Linked DNA regions of Homo sapiens: region 1 is linked to region 2. Evidence: promoter capture Hi-C in 16 types of primary human blood cells and fetal thymus (Javierre and others, 2016). All regions are on one chromosome and are shown on one strand. The core of a region is centred on a gene start or on the middle of the fragment in contact, and the rest is flanking DNA. Distances in the headings are between cores, read along the strand shown. Region 1 has its middle 12 kb from the start of GRB7. Region 2 holds the start of NEUROD2 (neuronal differentiation 2).

Region 1 (3,170 bases), core at 229-2,728, 140 kb after region 2:
GCACTTTGGGAGGCCGAGGCGGGCGGATCACGAGGTCAGGAGTTTGAGACCAGCCTGGCCAACATGGCAAAACCCCATCTCTACTAAAAATACAAAAATTAGCTGGGCATGGTGGCGGGCACCTGTAATCCCAGCTACTAGGGAGGCTGAGGCAGGAGAATAGCTTGAACCGGGGAGGCAGAGGTTGCAGTGAGCCAAGATCATGCCATTGCACTCCAGCCTGGGCAACAAGAGCAAGACTCAGTCTTAAAAAAAAAGACAGATGTCTGGCCTCTGCCCACTGCTCATGCCAGTCTATGTTTTTGTCTTAGAGGTTTTTTTGTTTTGTTTTTTGAGATGGAGTCTCACTCTGTTGCGCAAGCTGGAATGCAGTGGCACGATCTCAGCTCACTACAACCTCCTTCTCCTGGGTTCAAGCGATTCTCTTGCCTCATCCTCCCAAGTAACTGGGATTACAGGCGCTTGCCACCACGCCTGGCTAATTTTTTGTATTTGTGGTAGAGACGGGGTTTCACCATGTTGGCCAGCCTGGCCTTGAACTCCTGACCTCAAGTGATCCACTCACCTTGGCCTCCCAAAGTGCTGGGATTACACACCCAAGCCACTGCGCCTGGCCTTGTCTAAGAGTTTTTTAGTTTGAGCTCTTACCTGATGGGAGCTCTTTAATAAATATGTCAGATCGACTGCATCTGAACTTGCTGCTTAACTCAGGAGACAGACCCTCCTGCAGACCTGTGAACCCCAACTAGTCATTGTTTTTGTCAAAACACCAAACCTGAATCTGATTCCTTGGATTCAACAACTAGTTTACGGGAAATACAAGGGAAACAATGACAAAAATCCAGATTGGGAAATTCTACAGAACAGATAACCCAGTTTCTTCTTCAACAGCAACAAAATTACCAGAAAAGATGGGCAATCTCTAGATTTCAAGAAATTTAGACATATATCAACCAAATGATGTGTTGACCTTTGATTCAAATGCAAACTAACTGTAAAAAGCATTTATGAGCAATTGGGGGAAATTTGAATTCTGATCAGATATTCGATGATATTAAGGGATTATGGCTAACTTTCTAAGGTGTAATAATGGTATTGCAGTTACGGTTTTTTCTAAATCTTTATCTTTAAGAAATTCATTATGAAGTATTTAAAGGTGAAATCACATGATGTCTCAGCTTTGTTTTTATTCCTTTTCTTTTTTTTTTTTCCAACTTTTATTTTAGATTCAGGGAGTACATGTGCAGGTTTATTACCTGGGTATATTGAGTAATGCTGAAGCTTTGTTTTTAAAATAACCCAGAGGTGGCCAGGCACAGTGGGTCATGCCTGTAATCCCAGTACTTTGGGAGCTGAGGTGGGAGGAGTTTGAGACCAGCCTGGGCAACATAGTGAGGCCCTCTCTACAAAAATAAAAAATAAAAAATTAGCCAGGTGTGGTGACATGCATCTGTGGTCCCAGCTACCTGGGAGGCTGGGGTGAAAGGATCGTTTGAGCCCAGGAAGTCAAGGCTGGTGTGAGCCATGATTGCATCTCTGCACTCCAGCCTGGGCCACAGAACATGACCTTGTCTCAAAAAATAAAAAGAAAAAAATGAAATCCAGAGGTTAAAGGAGAGGGTGTGGGCATAGTCATGGTGTGGCCATGAGTTGACACTGGCTGTTGATATTGGTTGAAGCTTGGTGACAGGTACTGGCTATGTGGGGATTTGTTAAATTATCCTCTCCACCTTTGTATATGCTTGGATATTCTATTATATATTGATATATTTTAATGGAGAGCCCCTTCTCAAATCTTTGGGACTGACTGGGCAGGAGGTGGTGAGACGCTGTTTTGTAGGTGAGGAAACTGACGGCCCAGTGGGCAGCCTGGCCCCAGATCACAGTGGGAGAGCCAAGATTCCAACCCAGGTCTGAGGACCAGGTCTGGGCATGTTCTGCTTCCCCTGTCTGGCTGACGTCCAGGTGGCATTCCTCAGCCACAGTGACAGCAATAGTGGCCTACTGGGGTCCTCCCTTAGAGAGCCCCTCCCTTCCCTGCAGCCTTGGTCTCTGGCCTGGAGGGTTGTCCTGAGGTGACCTTGAGACTGTGCAGCCTCTGCAATCAGCCCCTGGGCTGGGTCTGGCAGCCCTGGCAGCCACTCCCGACCAAGGCACCCCCATCCTTGGCTAACTCCAGGCTGGGAAGCTGGGACCAGGTCCAGCAGACAGAGGTGGGCAGAGAGGTCTCATGCACACCCCAGCCTGGGACCTCCTGGGAATCTGCTGGAAGAACTTACTGCAGCCCAAGGGCAGGAAGGGTGGCAGATTTTGCTTCTTTTTAGCAGGACTGGAGGCAGGACCCAGTGCAACCTGCTGCCTGCCACCTGCCACGGTTCCCAGAGCCATCCCCACCACAGGCTGTGGCTCGAGCACCGAACAGGGCAGTGTCAGCTGTGTGGCTGGCCATGGGTGCCCAGGGCCACCTCCGAGGTGTGGGTGCCAGAGTTCCAGGCTGGAGTGAGAGTAAAGGGGTCAAGATGAGTCACCTCTTCAGCATGTCCAGGGGTTCAGACTGTAAAAAAAGAGGACCCAGTGTCCCTTCACAGCCTGAGGCACTGGGCAGAGACAAAGCCTCTCTGTCAATCAGCTAATTGGAGACTGTGAGACAGATGTCCTTCCCACTTTACAAATGGGAAACTGAGGCTCAGGGAAAGACAGGGACTCACCTGCGACAGGGGTCGCAGAGGGAGTTCGGGACAGAGGCCAGACTCAGCCCACTGGACAGGTGGTGAAATGCAGCCCTGCCCTGCTCTAGCCTTTGTTCTCTGCCCCCTCCCTTCTCAGTGCTGGCCACAGTGAGGGACCTAGGCTGCCGAGAGCCCTTAGAGGGGGCAGCATTTGGCCCTGATCTGGCCACCTGAGACCAGCAGCAGCCCATTCTTGGTGAGTGTCTGAGATTTCTGGCTTTTTGGAGACGTAGCTGCTAAGAGTTTGGGGGCACAGGGACCCTCTCAGGGCCAGCTCACAGTGGAACCCCTGGGTAAGATCCCCCAGCTCTGAGGATGTGGGAAGGATGCTGCTCTACCTCAGAGACTGCAGCATGACCTACAGTGGTCAGACAGCAGAAAGGACTGCCAAGGACGGCTGCAGTGCTAGATCGGGGAGGCTTGTGGTTCTGAGAAAATCTG
Region 2 (3,341 bases), core at 576-3,075:
AGTTCTTGGCTAGGCGCAGCGTCTCGATCTTGGACAGCTTCTGCGTCTTGGAGTAGCAGGGCACCACCTTGCGCAGGTTGTCCAGGGCTGCGTTCAGGTCGTGCATGCGGTTGCGCTCCCGCGCGTTCGCCTTCTGCCGCCGAAGCTTGGAGCGCTCCAAGCGCGCCTTGGTCATCTTGCGCTTCTTGGGCCCGCGCTTCTTGGGCCGCTCGCCCTCCGCCTCGTCCAGTCCTTCTTCCTCCTCCTCTTCCTCCTCCTCCTCTCCCCCCAGCTCGCCTTCCTCCTTGACCTCGGCCAACGTGGCCTCCGTCCCCTCTTCTCCACGGAGAGGGACTGGCTTGGCCGCCCGGGCTGGCCCCGGAGCCCCTGGCCCGGGCGCAGGCGGTGGCGGTGGCGGCGCGTCGCCCTTGTCGCTCCTCGGCTCGTCGTCTTCGCCGTCGCCCCAGCTGGCGAACTTGGGCACGTCCGAGAGAAGGCCGGGCTCGCTGAACAGGCGGGTCAGCATGGTGCCTGAGGGCGCCCCGCGGGCGGGAAGGGGAGACAGACAGCACAAAGTGAGGGGCGCGCTGGGGTACCGACGCCCCCCCACAACCCTCCTCCACCCCCGAGTCTCGTGCGGGCTCCTGCCTAGGCTACCCTGGATGCCCACCTCCGCCGCCTGCCCCGCCCAGAGCCGGCCCAGCCCTACCCGGCTGCCGGCCTGGGATCTCGGCCCAGGCCCTCTCCCCGGCGCTGGGCCCCGGCTCCGCCCCTCGCTTGAATGGGGGGCTGCTCCCCGCGCCTGCTTCTTCTCAGGGTCAGGGCAGGGACCGGGTGGGGGTTTTAGGGACCAGATATCTTTGCCAGGGGAGGCGGCGCGCTCGCCCTGAAAGCCCGTTCTCTCCTGGCGGTGGAGAGAGGCTGGTCGGCCGCCGGTGGGGACAGCTGCCCCGCTCCGCGCTCTCGCGGCCCGGGCCCCCCGGCCCAGCTCCCTCACCCCTCCCGTGGCTCTCACCCCCACGCTCCCTAATCCAATTTGCAACTTGGCTGCGCGCCGCCCCTTGCTCGGCCCCCACCCCCGCACCCCCAATTCCAGAGGCGGGAGGATCGTCTCCTCTAGCCGATGCGTCCCCAGCTCCCGGAGCCGGCTCTGGGCGGCGAGGACTGAAGCAGCGGGGCGTGGGGAGGAGACTGAGAGAAGCGAGCCCAGTCCGTCCCCTCTGCGGTCAGGGACCCCCTTCCCCCTTCAAGCTGACTCCCTCCCACAAGGCTCTTCAGATCTCGTTGTATTTTGGGATTGATGGGGGAAAAATCCAAATTTGTTTGTTTGCTTCCCTTTTTTCGGTGGTGGGGAAAGGTGGCAGGCTTTTTGGGACAACCATGGAGGGGTCCTCCGTCTCGGCCTCTTCGCATATCCCCCTCCGTGATCCTGCCTTCCCCCCCCACCGAGCCCATCGCAGGCAGAGACACCTCCTCTGCAGCCCCCTGGGCTGCAGCCCCTAAGGGAGAGAGAACCTGGGGCCCCTCCGATGCCCACCCAATGAGGGGGGCATCATCCCAGGAAGGAGGTATTTGAGGACCCTCCTGTCGGCCGAAGCTGCCGCCCCTCCTCCCAACCGGCGGGTCAGATCTCGCTCCCTTTCGGACAACTTACCTCGGAGAGGAGTCAAGGGGAGAGGGGAGGGGAGGGGGGGAGGGGGCAAGAGAGAGAGGGGGGAGAAGAGGGATCTTCTCGCTTATTTCATTGTTCCCCCATCTTCAGGGAGCGGGGGCAGCGGCTCCTCAAGGCGGCGGGCGCCGGCGTCTTCAGAGCGCCATGCGAACCGCGGAGCGAGTGTGGCATCTCTACCAGGCGGGGTACCAGCCTCTATGCCAGGCCATATGGGCTTGGCACGTCACGGGCAGCAGCTATCACATGAGAGACGGTGATTGGCATGCGTCTGCACTGGGGGAGAGCCGGCTCCCCCGGGACCCGCCGCCATCTGTCACTCTCTACTCCAAAAAAAAAAAAAAAAATTAAATAAATAAAGGAAATAAATAAATATTTCTGCCGCCCTCCCCTCCCCGCCCAACGCAGGGAAAGCAGGGATTGAGAGGAAGGTGGGAGGAGTTGCCCCCTGTATATAGAGACCCCCTCACGGGAACAATGGGGTGGCAAGGCTGGACACTGGGGGCTCGTGGTGGCCAATTCTATGCTCCCTCAGGGTCCCGCTCTGTCCATTTCCTCCCCTGCAGGCCCCCAAGGTGGGTCAGGGACCAGACCCCGGGTTGGGGAGAAAGGACCTCTGTGCTTGCCCCCACTCCCCAGGAGGGTCCCCTTGGCCACAAAGGGACAGCTGAGACCCCCTCCCAGGATGGCTGTAAGGGGCGTCCCTGGCCCGAGCCCCATAGGTAGATGTTGGCACCATGCCATCCCTCATCCCTGTCTGCCCCTCCCCCACCCACCCTCACGCACACACAACATATGTGGCTAAACGAAATTCAAACCAAGGGAAAGACAGAGAAAGGGAAAGATGTGCCTGGATGTCTGTGCCTCTGCATGGGCGTGTGTGTGTCTGTGGGGACATGTGTGTATCTGTGGAGTCAGCCGATGGGAGATCTTTCCTTGGTTGTTGGGGGCGTATCCATGTTAGGGTGGAGTGGGGAGGGGCCGCGAGATGAGCCTGTGCACCACCCATCTGGGGGTGGAGGGGAGGGTCTAAGTCTGGATTCCTAACCTAGAAACCTCTCACTCTCCTCCTCCCACTGCCAGACAGGTGACCAGTCCACCAGCGGCTTTCTCTCCTGGTCTTCAGACTTGGTTATTTGAGGGAGGAGGAGCAGGCAGTGCTGAGAACTGCCTAAGTTCCTGGATGAGACTCAAGCATTCTCCTCCCCTTCTGAAAAATCTGAAAATACTGAAGCCAACCCCAGTAATCCCAAGAGTGGCCAAGGGGAGGTAGGTCAGACAGCTGTCTTGATAAGGGAGGTAGGAAGTTGCTGTTTTATCTTGTGGCTCACCTTTCAACACTCTCATTGGGCCAGACACAGATACAAATGGCACAGGTTGAAGAGGTGGCTTTGGACACACACACACACACTCATGCACACACACATACACACACACACGGATGCATACACATGCACACATATACCTGTTCCTCACCCTGTGGTGTAGAAAAATAGATAACATACCCCTACTCAGATAGACACATGTATGTGAGCAGGTAATCACAGCCTGGTGTAGACAGACCCTTGCCCACACCCCATTTGGAGCATTTGTATGTTTTAGACCCACATTTCTGCCCCTCCAGACACTCTAGCTGACATATATACACAACTTCAATTATACTTTCAGCACACACATTTTGATGTCTACCATG

The links. The method cuts DNA at HindIII sites, captures the fragments that hold promoters and counts their contacts. A CHiCAGO score of 5 or more calls a contact.
Region 1: a contact is called between a fragment that was not itself captured here and the fragment with the promoter of NEUROD2 in region 2, in 16 of 17 cell types (naive CD8 T cells, naive CD4 T cells, total CD8 T cells and 13 more). The highest score is 13.0, in naive CD8 T cells.

The regions. Positions count from the first base shown.
Region 1 is chr17:39,748,261-39,751,430 of GRCh38, forward strand. No RefSeq gene overlaps it. Among named protein-coding and RNA genes, the nearest start is that of GRB7, 12 kb to the left of the region's middle. The HindIII fragment of the contact is 398 bases long and covers 1,280-1,677 here.
Region 2 is chr17:39,606,095-39,609,435 of GRCh38, forward strand. It overlaps NEUROD2 (neuronal differentiation 2), which reads right to left and starts at 1,826. Exons shown (of 2, transcript NM_006160.4): 1 at 1,634-1,826; 2 at 1-510. The coding sequence starts at 505. The HindIII fragment of the contact is 7,147 bases long and covers 144-3,341 here.